Regions from separate parts of the Homo sapiens genome. Here regions 1 and 3 are each linked to region 2. The links are contacts of gene promoters, found by promoter capture Hi-C in blood cells and fetal thymus (Javierre and others, 2016). All regions are on one chromosome and are shown on one strand. Each heading gives the region's core, a stretch centred on a gene start or on the middle of the fragment in contact. The rest is flanking DNA. Distances are from core to core; before and after follow the strand shown.

Region 1 (3,674 bases), core at 493-2,992, 430 kb before region 2:
ATCTTTCATGGTCTGTGATGCCTTGTTTTTATGTCCTTGCATCTGAAGGAGTAAATATCTCTTGCAGTCATTATAGATTAGTTTGGGGTGGTAAATATTTTCTCCTATTGGATCTCTGTGCTGATGAGATTTCCAGTGAGTTTGCAGTAAGGTGCATTGGATCTGGATCACAGTGAAGTTCATGCTTGGCAGACCTGTTATTAGGGCATCAGACTGTTGTGGATTCTGTCTATTTTCTAGGAAGACTGAACTTTCTTCAGGATCTTGATCAGTAAGACTGGTGCTGAGAAAAAAAAGTCTCCAGTTGTATATGCAGATGACAGAGCTGATATAATCCATGTGAGCAGGTATGGCTTCTGCTGTGTGGCTCTTGCTGGGTTTTTAGAAATCTTCTAACCCAGTCATTGGACAGATTCCTAGATGAGAAGTACTGACCCTTGGTCACAGCTGAGAGGGTGTGGAACTGATTCATAGGGCTGCTTCAGGATACACAGCTGAGACCAAAGTCTTCAGGTTTGTTTCTGGGTTCACGGCATTTCTCCCTCCAGATTCCTGGGTGGGCAGGACTGCTCCCAGACTTTAGTTGACAGGGACTGGAGGTAGGTTTTGGGACTGGAGGTAGGTTTTGGGACTGGAGCTGGGTTTTAGGACTGCTTCAAGATTCACAGTGGGAATAAAGTCAGCCAGCATGCCTACAGGGGCACATATAGGTGTGTTTTTTGGCAGGTCCCAGGTTAGGAAAAACTGCTTCTGGACTTTGGTTTCATGGACTGGGAGCCAGATGATAGTGCCACATCAAGATCCACCATTAAATAAATATCGGCAAGCCTACATCCAGGGGCACAGATGGATGTTTCTGTCGGTTCCTGCATGTGCAGGATTTCTTCCACATCATGATAGATGTGTGCAAGGGGCTAATTAGGAGACTACAGAGAGGAGCAACATCTAAAGTCCTTTCACCTGAGACACAGGACATTATGAATCCTCCTTGGTGTCTTGGCAGATGGTGCTAGTGGCATAAACAAAACCAAATGGCCTACAGCTATACTTACAATGAGAATTAATCATATTTTATTTTGTAGCTGGGACTATGATGGGCAAGCATGCCACTCAAGCAAGGGCATGCCCTCTCAATACAGCCCTCCTGTCTTGGGTTTACACCTTTTGACATGGATTCCAAAGTTCCTATAAAGGTTCATTTGCCAGGGCATAACTGCTGCATTTTTTTATAACCATATAAGATTTAGGTAGAGAACCTCCTATTCTGCCATCTTGCTATGTCACTCCCCTTGTATGTTTTACTTTGATTGTTCTGTGTCAAATATTTTTTATTTCAAATTCAAAATGTCTGAAATAAAATGCTTAAATTTTCAAATTGTGGAATAAGTAAATGTATTGAAATGCCTCATTCTCATCAGAGCATTTTATTAATTATTGAGATTATTTTCTTTTATTGCTGTACCTTGAATGCCAAAGATTCAAAATGCCAGCTCTTCATAAGTACATAGTCACAGTTGAAAACTGTAAAGGATTGTTTTTATGATACATCTATATGATATTCAATATTTTAAAGGTCAGAAATTTTTATTCTTGTTTTCAACCCCATTTTAGTGGTTTGTTTTTAATCTTTATATTTGTATGGTAACTTTAAACCCTGTACCTTGGCCAGGGGCAGTGTCTCATGCCTGTAATCCCAGCACTTTGGGAACTCAAGGCGGGCAGATCATAAGGCCAGGAGTTCAAGACCAGCCTGACCAATGTGGAGAAACCCTGTCTCTACTAAAAACACAAAATTAGCCAGGCGTAGTGACGCATGCCTGTAATCCCAGCTACTTGGGAGGCTGAGGCAGGAGAATCACTTGAACCCAGGAGGCGGAGGTTTCAGTGAGCCAAGATTGCAACATTGCCCACCAGCCTGGGCAACAAGTGTGAAACAATGTCTCAAAACAACAACAACAACAACAACCTCTCTACCTCTTATGACCATGTGGTGTTTAATTCAAATAAATATCATTGGGTTTCACTTCGAGCAAATTAAAAAACATATATATAAATCAGACATTTCTCTTGCCAAGAAAGTTATCTATGTGGTATTTGCCTGTATATATATTGCCCCTACGTTGTTTATAAATTATTTATCAGCCAGGCACAGTGGCTCACGCCTGTAATCCCAGCACTTTCGGAGGCCGAGGCGGGCGGATCACAAGGTCAGGAGATCGAGACCATCCTGGCTAACATGGGGAAACCCCATTTCTACTAAAAATACAAAAACAAAATTGGGCCAGGCGTGGTGGTGGTTGCCTGTAGTCCCAGCTACTCAGGAGGCTGAGGCGGGAGAATGGCGTGAACCCGGGAGGTGGAGCTTGCAGTGAGCCGAGATCGCACCACTGCACTCCAGCCTGGGTGACAGAGCAAGACTCCATCTCAAAAAAATAAATAAATAAATAAAGTATTTATTTACTTGGGTGTTCATCATTGTTTTCTTGTGTGGGTGAGTAGTCAGTGTAAAATTACCATCTATTATTTTATTATGTTATTCTGTGAGAGAAACACTTTTCTTACTTGAAGGTGATTTTTAAAGACTGTAACCTTTTTAGGTAGATCTAAATATTTAATTGTGATGAAAAACATGAAAATGCCAGGGAAAAGAAAGAGAGATCAGACTGTTACTGTGTCTATGTAGAAAAGGAAAACATAACAAACTCCATTTTGATCTGTCTTTTGAACAATTGTTTTGCCTTGAGATGCTGTTAATCTGTAACTTTAGCCCCAACCCTGTGCTCACAGAAACATGTGCTGTATGGAATCAAGGTTTAAGGGATCTAGGGCTGTGAAGGCCATGCCTTGTTAACAATATGTTTACAGGCAGTATGCTTGGTAAAAGTCATCACCATTCTCCATTCTCAATTAACCAGGGGCACAATGCACTGCGGTAAGCCGCAAGGACATCTGCCCAAGAAAGCCTGGGTATTGTTCAAGGTTTCCCCCAACTGAGACAGCCTGAGATATGGCCTCGTGGGAAGGGAAAGACCTGACCATCCCCCAGCCTGACACCCATAAAGGGTCTGTGCTGAGGACGATTAGTAAAAGAGGAAGGCCTCTTGCAGTTGAGATAAGAGGAAGGCCTCTGTCTCCTGCATGCCCCTGGGAACGCAATGTCTCAGTGTAAAACCCGATCATACATTTATTCTATTCTGAGATAGGAGAAAACCGCCCTGTGGCTGGAGGCAAGATATGCTGGTGGCAATGCTGCTCTGTTACTCTTTGCTACACTGAGATGTTTGGGTGGAGAGAAACATAAATCTGGCCTACGTGCACATCCAGGCATAGTACCTTCCCTTGAACTTATTTGTGACACAGATCCCTTTGCTCACATGTTTTCTTGCTGACCTTCTCCCCACTGTCACCCTGTTTTCCTGCCACATTCCCCTTGCTGAGATAGTGAAAATAGTAATTAATAAACAAACACTGAGGAAACTCAGAGACTGGTGCCGGTGCAGGTCCTCCGTATGTTGAGCACCGGTCTCCTGGGCCCACTGTTCTTTCTCTATACTTTGTGTCTGTGTCTTATTTCTTTTCTCAGTCTCTCATACCACCTGATGAGAAATACCCACAGGTGTGGAGGGGCAGGCCACGCCTTCATCTGCCACCCAACGTGGGTGCCTTTCTCTAGG
Region 2 (3,556 bases), core at 974-3,473:
GGTAATGTGGATTCTTTTGAAACCCCCTCCCTGTCTTCCACCTCACGTGAACTGGGAGGTGGACAGAACTTCAACCTAGGAATTCCACAACCAGCGACAGCAAATGAGGAGCCGGAGTATCACACAACACAGGAAGCTTTATTCATCCGCTGCTGGTCCAAAGAGTGGGTCGCAGGGTCACTCACTTTAATATGCTGTCATCTTGGGCCGGAAGGTTAGAAGAAAAGCACATGTTACCACTCAGGCAACCTAAAAAGACCACTTCAGCTTCCCAGTTATTTTTTTTTTTTTTTTTTTTGTTTTGAGACGGAGTCTCGCTCTGTCACCCAATGGCGCAATCTCAGCTCACTGCAACCTCTGCATCCCAGGTTAAAGCGATTCTCCCACCTCAGCCTTCTGAGTAGCTGGGATTACATGCACCCGCCATCATGCCTGGCTAATTTTTTTTAGACAGAATTTCACTTTGCTGCTCAGGCTGGAGTGCAGTGGCGTGATCTCAGCTCACTGCAACCTCCGCCTCCCGGGTTCAAGCAATTCTCATGCCTCAGCTTTCTGAGTAGCTGGGATTACAGGTGCCTGCCACCATGCCCGGCTGATTTTTTGTATTTTAGTAGAAATGGGGTTTCACCATCTTGCCCAGGCTGGTCTCGAACTCCAGAGCTCAGGCAATCTGCCTGTCTCAGCCTCCCAAAGTGCTAGGATTACAGGCATGAGCCACCGCACCGGGCCATGCCCGGCTAATTTTTGTAGAGACAGGGTTGCACCATGTTGGTCAGGCTGGTCTTGAACTCCTAACCTCAGGTGATCTGCCCGCCTTGGCCTCCCAAAGTGCTGGGATACAGGCATGAGCCACCACGCCTGGCCAGCTTCCCCATTTTTAAACAATCCGCATCTACTTAGCTCTGCTTAAATGTCCTCCTCCATTTTCCTTATCCCTGCACAAACCTGGGAGGGACAATCTATAAGAGCCAGTGTCACTCGTACCTTCTGCCAATTCTCTGGCAATCCGTTTCAGTTCATCCTGCTTCTTCTTCTCTTCTGCTGCTATCCTCCTCTCCTCTTCTGCCCGAGGTTTTAGGTAATCTGTTTGGCGGAATGCAGGAGAATAAAATTCACTGGAAATGCTGTACAAAAGGAACTGAGTCCACAGGTCAAGGTATCTTCAGCGACGCTGTAAACCAGACGCACCTGCTGTTCCCGCTCTTTATGTTAATGCGAGTCAACGCCTGACCTTCACCCTGACGAGTCCAACCCAGAGGCTACAGGGCCCCTGCTGCCCACCCGCTCACGCACTGGCTCACTCGTCCTCTGCGAACAGGGACTGCCTCCCATCAAGACCTCAGCACTCGAACAGCCATTTAGCACCCGTTTTCACCAAGAAGCAGCCGTTTTCGAGTCCCCCGCCCGGGCCTCAGAAGCCTGAGCTTTGGGTGAGCTGATTCCACTATCGGGGTCACGCTCGGTGGAGGACACGGTCCTGCAGCCTCGCATGCGTCCCAAGCCCCCTTCCAGAGCTGGAGTTCTCCAAATAGCACAGGAGCTCCACAGGAAAGCCGAGCAGACCCCGCCCCGGCCCCGCCCGCGGTCACTCACTGTAGCGCGTGGCTCCGTAGGCCACACCGAGGAACAGGGCGGAGTAGCGGCCGAGCTGCGAAAGAGGTTGGTCAGAGGCGGCGCGAAACGGGGCTCGCGGGACGGGGGTCGCGGGAGGAGGGGGGGCGGGGTCGCTGGGCAGAGGTCGCAGGAGGGGTGGGGGTCCGGTCGCCGGGCGAGGGTCACGGGGCGAGGATCATGGGGGCGGGGGCCGGGGGTCGCAGCCCGCGGGGTCGGAGCTGCGGGGCGGGACACGGGGGGGCCCAGAGCACTGGGCGGCGGCTGCAAAGCCTGGATCACCTTGATGAGCGGAGAGACCTGCACCGGTGGCACCATCTTGTCCCTGACCTCCGCACCGGAAGCACAACCTGCAGACGGAGCAGGATGCCGCACAAGCCAGCAAAGCCTTGGAGGCAAAGGCGGAGCTGGGCGCACGCATGCGCCGTCAGCGGCGAGAGAGCGGGGGGCCGCGCCCCCTGGCGACCGAAGGGTGACTGCGCGCCCCCGCGCGGCGGTGACGTCACGTGAGGCGCACGCGCACAAAGGCTGGGGAGTGCGCGGAGGATCATCGGCTGCGCCTGCGCAGTTGCTGCGTGAGGCGGGATCTGCGCCGAGTGGGCGGGGGGTTTCCTTTCCCCGCAGGGCTGGGGGTCCGCTGTTTCCCCGCGCTGCTGCCGAGGCCCCGCCGTCCGCGTCCTGGCCGTGTGTCCACACCCCAGACTGCGGGCCGGGGCGCACTCTGTCTTCTTGCGCGGAGCGTCGGAGGCCTGAGGTCAGGGCGGCTCGGGCGGGTCCAGCCCCGCGGACCGCGCCCACCCGAGGGTGGCCTGGGCAGGGACCTGGGGGTCCTGGGAGCGGAGTGTGAGCCGAGTGCAGGTGGCTCCCCGGGCAGGTCCTTCTCCTACAAGGCAGTAGTGTCTGTCGCCGGCCGGGCCGCGTTGGATTCCGCGGCCCGCGGGAGCATGGCCTCCAGGCCCCTCTTCCTGCGGCTGCTCTGCCCGGGAGCACGGGGCGCCCTTCATCCCGGAGCTGGAGCTTCCTCACCCCAGGATGCCCCATCACTTCTGTCCCGAAGAGGGGCTGGGATCTTCTTGGGAAGACCAGCCCCCAACAGAGGCTGCTCCCTGGGTCCCCCGACTCCAGGCCTCAGGACTCCACGGCTCCAAGGGCCTGCCCCGGCCCAGGCCTGGGGACCACTGAGCCCCACACTGGTCTTTGCTGGCCTCTGTCCACCTCCCGGTAGCTGTGTGTCTCCCACAGCTGCCCAGAGATGGGGCCTGCGGTGCCTATGCAGCCTCCCCGCTGTGCCCGAAGTGCTGACCCGCCAGCCCCATGGACACCAGGCTTGGAGTCTAGGCAGGAGCCTGGCACCCCCTCCACGTTCTGGGTCTTCCTGGCGGCAGCCATGCTGCCCGTGCTGGGCCACCCTCGGGCCCCCTTTGGCCCCATGCAGTAGTGACGCAAGGCCTCCTGTGTCCCCTCCTGGCCCTGCACTGCTACAGGCAGAAGCAACTGGAGAACTATGGCTCGGGTCTCGCTAAGGTGCAGCATCACAAACTCCAGGACTCTTGAAGCAAGCATGGGGAGGACCCGTGATCCTGGCGGCCTGGGCTACCTGTCCGGGCCTAAGTCGCCTCTGCCCCCTCTCCTGGCTTGCTCTGGGGTCCAGGGCCTGGGCCTCTCTGGCTGAGAAACTAGGAAGTCACTGGGCTCTGTTTCCTGAGCTGGGTATACCAAGGCCAGTCCTATAGGGCAGGGGTCCCCAACCCCCAGGTGCAGACCAGTACCAGCTTGTGGCCCGTTAGGAACCGGGCAGCACAGGACGAGGTGAGGGAGCATGATTGCCCGAGCTCCACCCACTTTCAGATCAGCCTGGGCATCAGATTCCCATAGGAGCGTGAACCCTACTGTGAGCTGCGCACTTGGATCTGGATTGCGCTCTGGTGAGAATCTAATGCCTGAT
Region 3 (2,797 bases), core at 1-2,500, 300 kb after region 2:
GAAGACATTAAAATCAATTTTAAAAAGCGGCAGCCTCGGGCCGTCCACATGACGAGGGGCCGCCCAAGCCAGTGTGGAATCACCAGGGTGTCGGCCACCACCAGGACCACCGGCCTAAGGCCTCCTGCTCACACCCGGGGAACTGCATCATTAGGAACAGGGCGTCAGACATTAGAGGGGACGGCGCAGCCGGATGCCCGCCAGTGGCAGGTGTGCCTGCTGGCCTGGCTTCCCGTCCTGCTGCACACCCGGGCCTGCCTCGCGGCCTGCGCCCCACCTGCAGCCTGAACGCATCAGGGAATGCGGACTTGGGGGGCCTCAGTCTGAAGACGGCGACGCTGACAGCTGAGGGAGGAATAAGCCTGGCCCTTCCTACATGTCCCTGCTGTCACCACTGTCACCAGAGAAGGGAAGTCCCCTGTGCCCTGCAGTGACCTGGGCCAGTCACCTCCCTGCCCCACCCAGAGCCCTTAGAGGGAGGGTGGTGGCCAAGACACCCTCAGGCACCCAGGCTTCCTGCCTTTGCTTTTTATTCAAGCTTCCTTGAGATGCTTGTGGGTTCACACATAGCTGTGAGGAAACTGAACAGACCCCCTGAAGCCTTTGTCAGCTCCCCTAAGTGTGTGATCTTGCAAACTGAGGTCACGCCAGATGCCGAAATCTCCATCCCCCCCAGGAGCCCTCACGCTGCATGTCACAGCCACGCCCACTTCTCCGCCTGGAAACCTCTCTACATCTGTGCTCCCTTTAGTTTCGTCATTTTGAGCACATTCTATGGACAGGATCTTGCTATTTGCGACCTCGGGGACTGGCTTTTATCACCATCATTCCCTGCAGATCCATGCAGGGTGCTCAGCCTTTTAATCCCGAGCAGTATCTGCCCTTTGCCTTTCAACTGCAGGTATCACTAACGTCTGACATGAAGGTTTTCAGTGCCTCGACCCTACGAGAGCTGACACATCCCCCAGCCTCTTGCAGGTGCAACACCCAGCCCCACACTCACCCGGACCAGGCTGGGTGCCACACTCGTGCACGGGATCCTCACGTGCTTCAGGCACTTCTCATGAGACATGAAATTGCAGACTGTGGGAATGAGCACTGTGTGAGTTGGCCCCTGTCCTACCCAATGGCTGTCCTACCCAGGAAGTTAGAGGCCCCAGGGCAATGACTGCCATACCCACCATGCTGCACCAGGGGCCCTGTGGTCCTCGAGTTCCCCCACCACCCTGCCCACTCATTGGAGAGAGCCTGCAGCCCAGGAGCCCAGGAGCAAGAACCTGGGTGGTCCTGACCATCCTGGAGGACAATGAGTGTATCCTCTCATCCAGAGAGCAGTCCCTCCCCTTCGCACGTAGGCCCAGCACTCCTCCTGCCTCTGCAGTTGGGCCTCTCAAGGGGCAGCCCTGGGCTCACCAGGTTCGCCAGGTGGCAGGGGCTTCTCGGCCTTCGGCAGATTGGCTTTACCAAGGACATCTGTGTCTCACTCCCCCGAAACTACGCATACCCCTAATTGTCCCTGCTACGTGCTGTGCACCGTGCCTGAGACCGAGAGCCACCCAAGGCAGGTGAGGGCTCTGGGAGGCAGGAGCCGCTGGGGAGTGGACAGCCCCAAGCCTCCCAAGGAGCTCTGGCTGTGTGCATAGGACCCAGGGAGCACCTGAGCCGGCGGGGTGCTCAGGAGGGCATAAGAGGAGCAAGCGCCACACCCCAGCAGTAAAACAGACAGGAGGGTGGGGCCGGGGCAGAAGGGAGGGCAGGAACCCTGGGCTGGGGCAAAGGCTGCGGGGGCTGGGAGTGGGCAGGGCACCCAGTGACACAACTGCCAAGACAGCCCCGGGTGAAGGTTGTGCCACGGAGCCCCAGGCAGTCCAGCTGGGACAGGGAGCTCTTCCAGAAGGCCCCGCTGGTGCCGCCCTTCACCTGCTGCAGCCCTAGCCACCCCAGTCTCCAGATGGGACCGGGAGAAGCTTCTCCTGGCAGCTTAAGAGAAAAGCTCTGGAAGCAGGCCAGGGTCCACCGAGAGAAGGGGGGACAGGCAGCACCCAGGTCCCTCCTCTGCCATGGAGACAGGGCCTGCTCACCCCACGCCCCACGCTTGGGTCTCCTGGCGGGGAGGGTGCCCTCCTTCCCATACCGCTGCTGGCCCCTCTTCCACGGGTGCTGCCCAGGAGGGCCCTTTTGCCCCCTCCGAAGGGGGAGGGGACCCGGAGTCTGGCCTCAAGTCGGGAGCTGCCTCAGCCACACATGCACACTCCCCACCTCTGGGGAAGCCCCTGGCATCCCCAGGCAGCAGGCATGGCTGTGCCATGCTCTGACGTGACAAAGAAGCTGGCGGGCCAGGCCACCTTGTGCAGCCCTGGGGGTCAGAACAACCATGCCGTTTCCACCACAGACGACATCCCCGTGTGAGGGGACAGTCTCCTCTGCGGACCCTGACCTGAGTGGACCCCTATCCCCAGAGAAAGGCCTGAGGCTAAGGATAGCCCCTCCCACCTCAGCGTCCCTGGCCAGGACACAGTAAGTGTCAAACGTCCAGAACTCCGGTCCTGTCCCTCGCTCCCTCCAGAGGCTGGGCTGTGGTCCCCCTGTCCCTCGCTCCCTCCAGAGGCTGGGCTGTGGTCCCCCTGTCCCTCGCTCCCTCCAGAGGCTGGGCTGTAGTCCCCGGGGCCCGCCTGCTTGCCGCGGGGGAAGATGAGAGCCAGCCCTGGGAGCACCCGGGCCCAGAACAGGGAAGGGCTGTCCTCACCCCAGCAAGAGCTGGGCAGCTGGGTGGAGCAGGGCTGGGACACGCGCACCG

Evidence for each region. The method cuts DNA at HindIII sites, captures the fragments that hold promoters and counts their contacts. A CHiCAGO score of 5 or more calls a contact.
Region 1: a fragment that was not itself captured here is called in contact with the fragment with the promoter of MYL5 in region 2 in 1 of 17 cell types (M1 macrophages); the score reaches 7.2 in M1 macrophages.
Region 3: a fragment that was not itself captured here is called in contact with the fragment with the promoter of MYL5 in region 2 in 2 of 17 cell types (neutrophils and fetal thymus); the score reaches 6.0 in neutrophils.

Annotation. Positions count from the first base shown.
Region 1 is chr4:238,560-242,233 of GRCh38, forward strand. It overlaps the pseudogene ZNF876P. Among named protein-coding and RNA genes, the nearest start is that of ZNF732, 65 kb to the right of the region's middle. The HindIII fragment of the contact is 4,026 bases long and covers 1-3,674 here.
Region 2 is chr4:672,319-675,874 of GRCh38, forward strand. It overlaps MYL5 (myosin light chain 5), which reads left to right and starts at 2,224. Exons shown (of 9, transcript NM_002477.2): 1 at 2,224-2,365. It overlaps ATP5ME (ATP synthase membrane subunit e), which reads right to left and starts at 1,958. Exons shown (of 4, transcript NM_007100.4): 1 at 1,894-1,958; 2 at 1,594-1,648; 3 at 985-1,083; 4 at 118-201. The coding sequence starts at 1,929. The coding sequence ends at 182. RefSeq lists enhancers at 2,090-2,847, 2,725-2,794 and a silencer at 2,245-2,514. The HindIII fragment of the contact is 4,723 bases long and covers 135-3,556 here.
Region 3 is chr4:969,990-972,786 of GRCh38, forward strand. DGKQ (diacylglycerol kinase theta) reads right to left here. Exons shown (of 23, transcript NM_001347.4): 2 at 1,004-1,083. Among named protein-coding and RNA genes, the nearest start is that of DGKQ, 2.2 kb to the right of the region's middle. RefSeq lists enhancers at 1-247, 2,084-2,724. The HindIII fragment of the contact is 1,429 bases long and covers 537-1,965 here.